Regions from separate parts of the Homo sapiens genome. Here region 2 is linked to region 1. Evidence: promoter capture Hi-C in human tissues and cell types (Jung and others, 2019). All regions are on one chromosome and are shown on one strand. The core of a region is centred on a gene start or on the middle of the fragment in contact, and the rest is flanking DNA. Distances in the headings are between cores, read along the strand shown. Region 1 holds the start of OASL (2'-5'-oligoadenylate synthetase like). Region 2 overlaps MLEC (malectin).

Region 1 (6,550 bases), core at 2,720-5,219:
CCTCCCTGTAATACAGACTCGCATATCCAACTCCCCACCACATATCTCCACCTGGGTCTCTGACAGACACCCCAAACTTCAGTTCCAAAACTGAGTTCCTTCCTCATCTCCATGCCCAGCCTATCCCACCTCAGTTAAGGGCAGTTCAACCTTTCTGTTGCTAAGGCCAAAAGCCCCGGACTTAGACCTTGACTCTGATCTTTCTCTCTCATCATACTCTACCCATTAGCAAGACCTGTCAGCCTTGGAGTCAAAATATATCCAGCGGAATGACATGATGTCCAGATTCACTTCCAAATAACACAGTAGGGAATCTAGGGATGGGGGTAGAATTGAAACCAGACTGTCTATAAGTTGATCATTGTTGAAACTGGTGATGGTACATGGAGGTTCATTGTATTATTCCACTTTGTTTGAAATGTTCCAAAATCAGAAAAATTAAAACATACTATTTCACTGCTACCACTCTGATCCAAGTCAACTGACCTCTTGCCTGGACTGTTGCAGTAGCCTCCTAACCATACTTCTGCCTCCACTTTCACCTCCACTCCACCCTCTGCTTCTAATTTAATTTCCTCCCAGCAGCCAATGTGATTAATTCCATTAAAATGAAAGACCGTGTCACTCCTCCACTCAAAACTCTCCAATGTATGGTGTCAGACTCCTACAGAACAACAAAAAATGCTCCCCAGTGGTTCCCCATTTCATTCAGAGTAAAGCCAACTCCTAACAGTCGTCTTCAAGATCCTATCCACTCCTGCTCCTTGTTTATGGAATAAATCTTTTTAAAAAGATCTTATATCCTGGCTGGGTGCGGTGGCTCACGCCTGTAATCCCAGCACTTTGGGAGGCCGAGGCGGGTGGATCGCCTGAGGTCAGGAGTTAGAGACCAGCCTGGCCAACATGGTGAAACACCGTCTCTACTAAAAGTACAAAAATCAGCTAGGTGTGGCGGTGGGCACCTTGAATCCCAGCTGCTCAGGAGGCTGAGGCAGGAGAATCGCTTGAACCTGGGAGGTGGAGGTTGCAGTGAGCCGAGATTGTGCCATTGCACTCTAGCCTGGGCAACAATTGTGAAACTCCATCTCAAAAAAAAAAAAAAAAAGGATCCTGTATCTATTTGCCTTGCCACCCTTTACTACTTAAACCGCATTCCCTTCCACTCTCTGCTCTTGATCACTCCGTTCCAGGCACACTGATGTTCCTTATACTTGCCACCGGGCAGTACCACCACAGGGTCCTCGTACTTTCCACTCCTTCTGCCATGAAGAATCTTCTTCCTTCTGTTACACACGTGGCTCACTCTACCTTCTTTTTTTTTTTTTTTTTTGAGACGGAGTCTCGCTGGAGTTCAGTGGTGCAATCTTGGCTCACTGCAAGCTTTGCCTCCTGGGTTCACGCCATTCTCCTGCCTCAGCGTCCCGAATAGCTGGGACTACAGGTGCCTGCCACCACGCCCGGCTAATTTTTTGTACTTTTAGTAGAGATGGGGTTTCACCGTATTAACCAGGATGGTCTCGATCTCCTGACCTTGTGATCCACCCGTCTTGGCCTCCCAAACTCTTCACCTTCTTATGTCTTTGCTCAGATGTCTCCTTTTCAGGGAGGCCTTCCCTAATCACCTTATGTAAGACTGAAACCTAAATACATGCCCCCAACACACACACACACACACACACACACACACACACACACACACACAACCTCTTAATCCCTTCTCTTGCTTTGTTTTTCTGCTTAGCACTTATCACCGTCTTCTTTACTATAATTTTACCTATTTATCCTATTTGTTGTTTGTCTCCACTACCAGAAAGAAAACTATCTGCAGGTAGGGATTTTTCACTACTGTTTGTTCACTGTTGTATCCACAGCACCTGCCTGGCACAGAGTAGGTGCCCAGTAAGTATCTGTTGAATGAGTGAACGAATGAGTGAATAGCACTCCAAGATTCAATCCTGCCCACCTGTCCAGGTACATTTCTAACCTCTCCCCTGCTCACCCTTTCATCCCAAGGCACACAGCACACTTGAGTCCCTGGCATATCCTAGCATTATTTATACTTCTCAGCCTCTATGCTGTACCCTCATCCTCCTGGCTGGAGTGCCAGTCTTTTTTATTTTTTATTTGGAGACAGAGTCTCATGCTGTCACCCAGGCTGGAGTGCAGTGGCACCATGATAGTTCACTGCAGCCTGAAACTCCTAGACTCAAGTGGTCCTCCCACCTCAGCCTCCCAAGTAGCTGGGGCTACAGGTGGACACCACCACACCTAGCTATTTTTTAAAAAACTTTTTGTTTTTAAAACAAAAACTGGAGTTTTAAACTCCAGGCCACCACTGCCTCTCACCTGCACCACTGTGCAGTGTCCTGACCATCTCCCTACATCTGTTCTTGCCCTTGCAATCATCCTCACCACAGAAGCAGAGAAGTTACAAGTGTGGCAAAGGGCAGACCGGAATTCAAAGCCAATGTGGAGTGGGGAGTTGGATACATGAGTCTGGATTTCAGGGAAGAGGTATGGATTTAAGATACAAATGTGGGAGTCACTGGGTATGGTGGCTCACGCCTGTAATCCCAGCACTTTGGGAGGCCGAGGAGGGCAGATCAGGAGTTCAAGACCAGCCTGGGCAACATGGTGAAACACTGTCCCTACTAAAAATACAAAAAGTTAGCCAGGCGCGGTGGCGGGCTCCTGTAATCCCAGCTCCTTGGGAGGCTGAGGCACAAGAATCGCCTGAACCTGGGAGGCAGAGGTTGCAGTGAGCCGAGATTGTGTCACTGAACTCCAGCCTGGGCGAGACAGTGAGACTCCATCTCAAAAATAAACAAATAAATAAAAATAAAATTAAAATGTGGAAGTTGCCAGAGTAAAAACATTTAAACGCTGGCTGAAATCACCAAGGGAGTAAGTCTAGAACAAGAAGAGAAAAGGACCCAGGACTAAGCCCTGGAGCACTTAATATTATTCAGAGTTTGGGAAGTTGCAGGTGTCCAGCTATGTTGCCCAGGCTGGTCTTGAACTCCTGGCCTCAAGTGATCCTCTCACCTTGGCCTCCCAAAGTGCTGGGACTACAAGCATGAGCCACCATGCCCAGCCCGGATCCCCAGTCTTTAAGATTCCTCTCAAGCAGGTGTCTGCTAACACCAAATGAAACTCATCTGCCGGCTTCATGTTTTCATGCTTTTTTCCTACTTAACTCATCGCACTGGACTTTTGCAGTCTCTTTTTTCTGTGTCTCCTCCACCGTTCTGGGAGTCCCCTTGGAACAGGAACCTCATCTTATTTTGTCTTCTTGGCTCAATGCATGAACTTCTTGGTTCAGTGCGTGAATCATAATACCTGTTAAACCCACTCTATGGGCCGGGCGCGGTGGCTCACGCTGTAATCCTAGCACTGTGGGAGGCCGAGGTGGGCGGATCATTTGAGGTCAGGAGTTTGAGACCAGCCTGACCAAAATGGTGAGACCCCCGTCTCTACTAAAAATACAAAAAAAAAATTAGCCGGGCGTGGTGGCACATGTCTGTAGTCCCAGCTACTAGGGAGGCTGAGGCAGGAGAATCGCTTGAACCCGTGAGGCAGAGGTTGTAGTGAGCTGAGATTGCACCACTGCACTCCAGCCTGGGCAACAGAGCAAGACCCGGCCAAAAAAAAAAAAAAACAAAAAAACAAAAAAACCCACTCTATGAATAGTGAGGGTCAAAGAGGTTAGAGTCTGGCACAGGTAGACTAGAATTCCCAGTCTGTTCTCTTGGGCTCCAGATTCTCACTCCACCACCTGAACACTAGTGAGTCCCTTCCGTTCCCAAGCCTCAATTTCCTTAGACAGATGTAAGCAGTTGAATTGACTAACAACTATCCAACCCCAACCTACTGGGCAAGTTGCCTCCTTTGGGGTCAAACACTATCCAACTTCAGTTTCCCAACGTCATAAAGGAGAACTCTAAAAGTTGAGAATCGAAACTGATGACAGATTGACTAGACGGCCAGCCTGTTAAGGTGGCCCCAGATATTCCAGCCTCAGCCCAGAGTCCTCCTGTGCCCCTACTGCAGCAAGGGTGTCTCCAAGAAGGGGGACCTGGAGTCAGCCCGTCACACCTGGTTTCCTCTCTGCTAGGGTCCCTCCTCCCACAGAGCACTGGAGGGCAGCTGAGGAGGAGCTACCTTAAAAAAGGAGGTGTGTGCCAGGGAGCTGGGTAGGAGCCTGGCTATATATCTGCCCAGCAGCGGTACTCTCGGGACAGAGATGGCACTGATGCAGGAACTGTATAGCACACCAGCCTCCAGGCTGGACTCCTTCGTGGCTCAGTGGCTGCAGCCCCACCGGGAGTGGAAGGAAGAGGTGCTAGACGCTGTGCGGACCGTGGAGGAGTTTCTGAGGCAGGAGCATTTCCAGGGGAAGCGTGGGCTGGACCAGGATGTGCGGGTGCTGAAGGTAGTCAAGGTAAGACTGGGCTCCTCCAGCCCCCACGCAAGACAAAACCCAGTATCAGAGTCCACGTCCCTGGGGATGCTGGGGACCCCTGTCCTCCTTATCCCTAGCCCATGCTGATGACATCTCAGAATACCCCATCCCACCTAGCTGTCTACACCCCACTGCACCACTGCCTTGAGTAGAATGAGTCTAGTAATAATAGCTCACATTTGGGGGCTCACTGGACTAACCTCTTAACATACACTATCTCTAATTCTTGCACTCTGTGAGATAGGTACTATTCTTTGCCCAGTTTACAGATTAGCAAATGGAGGCTCAGAACCAATACAATGCGAGGTCCTTGGTTGGATCCTAGTGTGAATGAACCATCTGTAAAATATAGTTTGGGGACAACTGGCCTAGATATCAGATAGTACATATATCTGATATGGGAAATCATTGTTGATTTTGTTAGGTGTAACAGTAGTTTTGTGGTTATCAGAAGGTTGTCTTTTGTTTGGACACGAACACTGAAGTATTTTAGGGACAAAGTTCCTTGGTGCCTATAATTTACTTTAACGTGGCTTAGATTAAGCACATGTAGCCAGGAATTTAGACTTGTTGAATCAACTAGTTGGGTATATGAGTGTTAGTTGTATCATCTATTTTTCTATGTGTTTTAACTTTTTGATAATAAAATGACTTTTTTTTTTTTTAGAGACAGGGTCTCGCTCTGTCACCCAGGCTGGAGTGCAGTGGCACAATCACCACTCACTGTAGCCTCAATCTCCCTGAGCTCAGGTGATCCTCAGCCTCCTAAATAGCTTGGGATTACAGGCATGCACCACCATGCTCAGCTAATTTTTGTATTTTTTGTAGAGATAGGGTTTCACCAATGTTGCCCATGCTGGTCTCGAACTCCTGGGATCAAGAATATGCCCACCTTGGCCTCCCAAAGTGCTGGGATTACAGGTGTGAGCCACCATGTCTGGCCGGCCAATAAAATGATTTTTGTTTTTGTTTTTTTTTTTTTGAGACAGAGTCTTGCTCTGTCACCAGGCTGGAGTGCAGTGGCACGATCTCAGCTCACTGCAACCTCTGCCTCCCAGGTTCAAGCAATTCCCCTGCCTCAGCCTCCCAAGTAGCTGGGACGACAGCGCCCACCACCACGCCCGGCTAATTTTTTGTATTTTAGTAGAGACAGGGTTTCACCGTGTTGGCTAGGATGGTCTCGATCTCCTGACCTCATGATCTGCCCTCCTCGGCCTCCCAAAGTGCTGGGATTACAGTGAGCCACTGCACTCGGCCTAAAATGATTTTTTAATGGAGGCTCAGAGAGGTGAGGTGACTTGCCCAAGGTCACACAGTGTTGAAGCTGGGATTTGAACTTGACTCAAGGGACCCAAGCCCCCCTCACTGAGATTTTCCCCCAAGCCCTTCCTCCAGCTGTTTCATGCCACCGCCTGTGCTAGCTAAGATCAAAATTCAAGAGGGTCGGAGCTAGAAAGACTTTGGAGAATCAGACAGTCTCACCAATGACTCACTTAAAAAATTAAGTAAACCGAGGCACAGAGAGGGTGAGAGATACCCCAAGGTCACACAGCGAGTTGGTGGCAAAGGCAAGACTAGAATTAGGACCCCTGACTCCCAGCCCAGTGCTCAAGTTCTCTCTCTAGGGGCAACCAACTCACAGAGGGATCTAGAAGCCCTGGGCCCCTATCCGTTCTTTGCACCTATCCCCAGCATATGAAGCCTGAGGCCATACAATTTATAAGTGAGAAACCACAAATTTTGATATTAGACAGACTCTTCGCTTCTTCCTTTACCAGCTGTGTGGTTTTGACCTTCCCACTCTTCTTTCTCAAACCCACATTCTTTTCATCTGTGATTGGGGCATCATCATCATCTCTCCCTCACCAAGCCAGTGGTGCAATGCAGGCTGAATGATTCATGCACGATAAATGCTCAGAAACAGAAGCATCATTATAATTCTTGCCAAGCTTTCTTCTGGGCCTGGGACTCAAGTCTGACTCTGGCAGACCCTCCTAGACCACCCCCTCCCCAACAAACTTGAGAATAAAGTGGAGGGAATAAGGAATGTCTGGTAAGAGGAGGATGCTACAAGAATAAGTTTATTGT
Region 2 (6,550 bases), core at 2,468-4,967, 340 kb after region 1:
CCCTCTCTGCCAACTCAAACAGGCACTACTGTTTCCTTGGCTGCCAGCACAATCCTGGCTCCTTGTGTTTATACTCCTGGGGGAACCTGTCCCAAGAGATCCATCCTGCTCTTTTCCTGCCAACCCAGCTAGTCCCCAAATCACCTGCTCTTATCAAGATAATCTGGCCCCCCATAGCAGGCTAGACAAAAGGCAGCTGGAAAGGACAGGCCAGACTGGAAGCAAGCCACACAGATGCAAAGAAGAAACCTGCCCTCGCTAGGCAGCTGATCTACTGGTACCAATCTAGTCTCATAACAAAATGAGGAAATCTAGCCCTCTTGCCCCAGAGAGATTTAAATACAGAGAGTCTTAGTTTGGACTGAAAGAGAAAAATTGCTCTGATCTTTCTAAAGCTTGAACATTAAGGCTTCTTTGCAATTTTCTTAGAGCTCTTTGATCGTTAATTATATCTTTCCATCGAAGAGAAGCAGATTTCTTCTGAGATTTCTGAACAGTTCCTGGGTGTTTCCGGTTCTGCTTCCGTGTACTATCACTTTGCCTTGCCTCAGTCTCTCCTTCCTCCGGGGCCACAGAAGGAGAAAGCCCAAAGCATACCCATCCTGCCCTTTAAAAAAAAAAAGAAAGAAAGATTCGTCTCTCACTTTGGAAAGCTCACCTACTCTCCTAGGTCCTTCTGGAGGGGCATGGAGGACAATATTCCATGTTGCCATTTGATGCCACTAAGGATCCCCAAGGCAAGAAGACACTTGAATTATGCCAGAGTAGGCCAGCAAAGGGGAGGGAAGGGACAGGGAAGCAGCCCCATGGCAGGGACTATAGGACCCCTGCCCAAACCTGAATCTAGAGGGAATGCCCCACCCTGGCTCAGAGCAGGAGAGGAAAAGGCACTGTGCTGACCGGGGTGGGTCCTTCCCCAACCCCTAGGGAGGGCAGAGAACCTGCTGATTCTTTCCCTGGGTTTCCCAAGGTGAGCCAATTTCTAGGGAAAGGGATTTTAGCACTAGGAAAAGGAAAATACTGCTGCTGTTTTCTGAAGTTCTCAGCTGAGATTTTAGAAACCATATCCAGGCCTTTCCAGGAGAGGCTAGAGGCAGGAGAAGAAGGAAGAGAAATTCCTTAAAACAGAAGCTTCTCCCAAGAGATAAGGAAGTCAAAACCACAGTTCTAAAGCTGGACCAAACAGTTCCCAGGCACAGAAAGGGGGAGGTAAACCTAACTCAAACTGTGCCCTCTCATCAAAGCCTAAATGCCCGCTAACGTGATCCCAGTAGCTCTTAGGCAGGGAGGGCAAGAGAACACGAACACGCTCTCAAACCAACAGGTGGCCCTGTGGGCAGGGCTAGTCTTCCTGGGAGTCTAACGCCATTGACACCTGAAGAAAACTATCTTCCCAGTCATGAGAACTCGGGGTGTCGATTGAGCAGCCTCTCCTCAACAATGGAGATTTTTCAGAAAAGTGAGTCTGGTTTAAGGGACACAAATCCCACAGAGTTTCTTGGCACAATGTTTCAGTAAGCATGAGTGAGACCCAAAAACGTCCAATGAGAGACCAACAGGCCCCTGACCTAAGTCAGAGCTAGACTGCAGAACTCTCAGCCCAGCTCTGCAGCAGACATCTGCGTCATCCTCCCAGAAATTCAACTCAGGCCACACTTCTGGCAAAAGAAGTTTCACCCTGACTGTCCTTGTTTTCAGTCAGCTGGGCTCAGTGGGATCTAAAAACCTGGGACAGAGTGTAGATCCAGTAGAGGAGCCCAGGCCTCTCCTCCACGCACCCCTCACTGGCACCCCTCACCATCTCCCATACATTCCCTATGGTGCAGCCTCTCAGTCCTAGCACTAAGCTCAAAATACAGATAAGAGAACAAACAGTGCAAAAAGCAAAAGGTGAACAACAGAGTAATTCTTGACACATACAATACAAAAATAAAAATAAAGAATCCCACCCCTTTAACCTAAACTTCATGTACCTATATCTTGGAGGAGCCACAAAACAAAAACAAAAACAAAAAAACTTTCAAGTTCAGCATCATGAGCCAGCTGTGACCAGCCCCAGGGAGCTCTTGTTAGCTGGATAGGCTTGGCTCCAGGGGAGTCTACCCCAGCCCCCACCATACTTCTTCCTGTTTCCTCACTTCCCCTTTAGTTTTTGTTAGCCATAGAAAGATGTTCCTTCCTTTCGTTCACAACCAGAGAGGAAAGCGCCCATCCCTAACCCTGAGCTCAGGGGAAAAGGGTGGGCTTGGAAACAGAGGCAGAAGCAAAGCTGCTTGGCTTACAGTACCATTAGGAAATGGCCCCAGGAGTCAGGGTTTCCTTCTGAGACTCTGAGTCACTGAAGGGATGTGTTGAGGTGGAAGGCGGGACCCCCTCCTTCCTCAGACAGACCCAGGCAAACTAACAAACAAGGCAAAATGGAGGCAGCCAGTCCTCCTCCTTCATCTTGACTAACCCAATGGCAGTGGCCCAGGGCTTTGGGGAATTTCGATGGGATAGGAACCAAAGCTACTGCCAGAAGCCTGTTTAGTTAGGATGTCCACTGCCCCAGGCAGGTGGTCCCCAGGACCAAGGCTACAGTACCTTATCCTTTAGAAGCAGGGGAGCTGTGTGAAGCACTATGGGAAGTATACCTCTGACTGCAGCCTCGGGCCACAACCCTCCAGCTGCCTGACTCAATACCCTAGCACTGAGACCCAAGTCACAGCGAAAACAACAGGCTACAATTCTCAAACGACTAAATGCTGGCCTGGAGTAATCATTAAAGAGCCAAAACCCAGGACATGAGCCCAAGAGCTACCTATTTTGTCACATAAGGAGCAGTTCAAATATACAGAGCTCTTAAAAAACATATCTAATAAAGCAAACTCAAAATTAAACACATTCTAGAAAAGCGGGCCTGGCCTGAGATCCTATATTGACTGCTCCAGCCCAAGCTGAAGCTAATCCTGCTGTCTCCCATCCACAAAATTCCTTCTAGCTTGGCTGGGTCCTCCTTCATTGTTGCCCTAACTGGGAAATGGATGACAATGGCCAGAAAGGAGGGGACCAGGGAAGCTTCATTTCCTATAGAAATTTTTTCAGGGAATTCAAGATCGACACTTAGATGCTAAGGTTAGCTTCAGAGCTGCCAAGGCTCTGGCTGACTGGAATTCTTTCAGTCCCATCACACCAAGAACCTGACTGCTACTTGGATAGAGAAATGAAAGGACAGGGGAAGGAGGGGCATACTATTAAGATCAATAAGAAGCATCGCTGGGCCTATATAGCTAATTAGTCTAGTTCCTTGAAGTAGCTCTAGGCATAAACCAAAACTGGCTGAACTGTGACACACAAGAACATGGGAATAAATGAACATCAGATACCAGACACTCTAAACAGTGGTCAGTCACTTAGTAGGGCTCAAATCTCTGAGGTTGCTCTTAAGCTATGCTAACATAAGCCTTTTCTAATCCAAAGACCAGAAGAGACTTTTAAGGTCAAGTGTTCTGTTGCTGCAGGCTGGAAAGCATCCCTGCCCCCTGGCAGCAAGGCCCTACAAAGGGGCCAGTAAAGAACTGCTGGGTCAGGTCCTCCTGGCTGCTGGCTCAGAGATCCAGGGAGGGAGGTACCAACAAGGTGAGGTGGTAAAGGAGAAGACATTCAAGCAGAGAACCCCAAATCCCCGTGTCTCCTTCCCTTCTTGGCTATAACTTAGTGGGATGGTTGAGAGGGAGAAGAAATTTCAAATGAGCCAGATTAAGGAAACAAACAAACAAACAAAACTGAGAAGAAATCAAGTCCCCAACAGGCACTGAAATCAAAATGATTTGTTGTGGTAACAAGTCAGAGGCGATCTGAGGACCCGACATAACCGAAACGTCTTGGATGCTGGACAGTCTATAACTGGCACATGCCAGGGAGACAAGCAATGACAAAGCTCAAACACTAAAGGTGGGACCATCACTGGATTAATCCAGAAAGGCTTCCAGATAAGGAAGCATTTTCTTTCTTTTTTTTTAATCTCCCTACTTTTTTTTTTAAGTCTTTACCGCACAAATTCTACCCCTTCACACACATTCTTTCAATCCCAGGACGTCTGAAGTCTTATCTAGACATAACTTCAGACCGTACCTAACTCCCAGTGCTGGTCGTCTCAGGTAATAAGATGGCATTTCCCTGCTGTTAATTTCTAACCTAAAAAAAGGAACAGTGACTCCTCTGAGTTCAGAGTCCTTTCCACTAGGTATACAAATGAGGATCCTTGAGCAGGAAGGATCCAGTTTACCCTAAGTATCCTCAAGAGGAAAGAGAAGGCTGGGAGCCAGCCACAAAGAGAGGACGAGGACTGAAGCACGTCTGGGACCAGGTGGTGAATGAGGGCTGCTCTCTACTCGCTCTGCCTCTTTTTGTCTCCTTTAATTGATGTGTGTTTTTTTCTCTTTGTTTTTGTTCATTAATCATTGTGAAAAATACAGAAACCAAAACCAATATGGCTGGTTTCTTTCCCACACCCCTCCACCCTGTTCAGGATAGTCATTTGTTCTCACAACCGGCAGAGGCAGAAGAGGGTTGGAATGAAGACTCCGAAGGCCACCAGGATGGGAAACATGAGGCTGCTGTTGTCCGAGGCATAGGGGTTGGGTGTGCGGGGGCCTGACTGCACCCGGTTCTTATTGGTCTGTTTTTTGAGATTAGACCCTTCATCATATTCTTCTTCTTCTTCTTCCTCTTCTTTCTTCTCCAATCCCGGATGAGGCTGAAGCTTTGGTACATCTAACACAAGGAAGAAAACACTGTTAAGACCCACAGCATTTAAGTAAGAGAGACCCTTAAAAGCAGCAAATAAGCCACAATAAAGAGATTGCTGTGATTGAACCCGGGTCCAGAGAAAAGACCAGAAGTAGCAGAAATAGCCTCTGGTCTACAGAACAGCAGAGTGCTGCAAAAGCTTTAGATTTAACTAGAAAGTAGAAAAAGCCGTGCTCATAGGGAGGTTCACTATCTTACCTTCCTGTTCTACTTTTACAGAGCCCCAAGATAACCAGACTGGACAGGGACAATGATCCAATGCCTAAACTTTAGCCTTTTCAAATCCCTCCTCCTCCCACAAGCCCACATTCCCTTTTGATTCACACAACAACTGAAGAAACGTTGACCCAGAGAGTTCTGGGTTCCCAGCACACACTATCCCTCTGTCCTGCCTCCTCCTCAGGGACTTGAACACAGGTCTGTTTGGTGGTAAGACATTCATCCTCCTAGATGTCATAATATCAGCATTTGGGGGACATCAAGACAACAGGATGAAATCCTCAGTGCATTCAAGATTGAGTTGGGGAAAGGTACAGAGGTGGAATGGGGGAGAAATGTCACAAAGACGCAGCTTTCTCTGCAAAAATCAGCCTGAGATGCTGGCAGCCAGGAGAATCTAAACCCTGAGAAAGAAATATACTCTAAGACTTGATCCCAAGGATAAGGAGACATAAATAAGTGAAGTTTTGTCCCAGTGCAGTCCAGCAATGCTGGAATCTTTCAGAGCATACCAAAAGCCTACAGGACTCCTCCTTTTACCTTTTTTTCCCCTAGGAAAGAGATGTCAAACAAACAGAATAAGGACAAGTTTTAGGTGATCCCAAATGACTACAAAGGTCAGGGTACACCAATAGGTACCATTATTAATCCCAATTTATAGGGAAATTAAAAGCATCCATCCAAGACAAACATCTGATTAAATGGCAGCAACAAGATATACATAGACCTGACTCCAAAGCTTGTGGCTAGTACCATGTTATGCTTCATCCTTATCCAACTGATTCTGAATCCCCTACAATTTAGCTTTAAGTGTTTCCAAAATAGTCATCAGCTCAATTACCTCCCAAGGGCTTCCTCAACCATATCCCTCCACTCAAGTCAAAAAAGCAGGTCAGAACACAACCTACCATCCACTGTCCCAGCCATGATGTAGAGTGCACAGACCTTGGGATTGTCATAGTACCCCTAGGAAAAGGGAAACAGTGGTCAACCCCACACAGCAGCAAACAACTTCCCCTGTACCCACTCTCTTCAGCAATGGGCAGAATAGGGGAATTACCTTGACAAACTCAATGTAGAGTTTCCCTGTGAAGGTGGACACCTCCCCCTGGACACTCAGCTTCCCCTTTCTGATGCTCATAGGTATAATTTCATCGTGAGCTGTGCTATGCCCAACACGATCAAAGATATCCAAGTCCTTCACCACGACGTGGCCATTCAATCGTACATCAAATACCTTCCAGGATAAGAAAAGAAAACAATGTCAAAACCATCAGCTTTACATCCTTTCAAGCAGTTGGACATCATGCACGTGTTTGGGCTTGAAGTTCAAAAATAATTTAAGAAATGATGGGTCTGGATATCCAGGGTGGTTAGCATCCTTAACCCGGGTCAAATCAAAGCCGTGTTCCTTCACTGCCCAGGAGTTCTTATATTGGCTTTAAGGAACAAAGAATACAAACAAAAAGCTTAGCATAGGAAGAAGGAAATTCACAGGAAGGGACAGAGGAAAAATAAGGCTAAAAACAAGAAGGTGCGG

What was found. Contacts are between HindIII fragments. The study calls those that stand out against the background at their distance.
Region 2: a contact is called between a fragment that was not itself captured here and the fragment with the promoter of OASL in region 1, in 1 of the 25 tissues and cell types used here (IMR-90 fibroblasts).

What each region holds. Positions count from the first base shown.
Region 1 is chr12:121,036,665-121,043,214 of GRCh38, reverse strand. It overlaps OASL (2'-5'-oligoadenylate synthetase like), which reads left to right and starts at 3,969. Exons shown (of 6, transcript NM_003733.4): 1 at 3,969-4,441. The coding sequence starts at 4,244. RefSeq lists enhancers at 3,805-4,224, 3,804-4,303, 4,304-4,805. The HindIII fragment of the contact is 11,669 bases long and covers 3,897-6,550 here.
Region 2 is chr12:120,694,521-120,701,070 of GRCh38, reverse strand. MLEC (malectin) reads right to left here. Exons shown (of 5, transcript NM_014730.4): 3 at 6,071-6,247; 4 at 5,919-5,976; 5 at 1-4,755. The coding sequence ends at 4,526. Among named protein-coding and RNA genes, the nearest start is that of MLEC, 11 kb to the right of the region's middle. The HindIII fragment of the contact is 3,246 bases long and covers 2,095-5,340 here.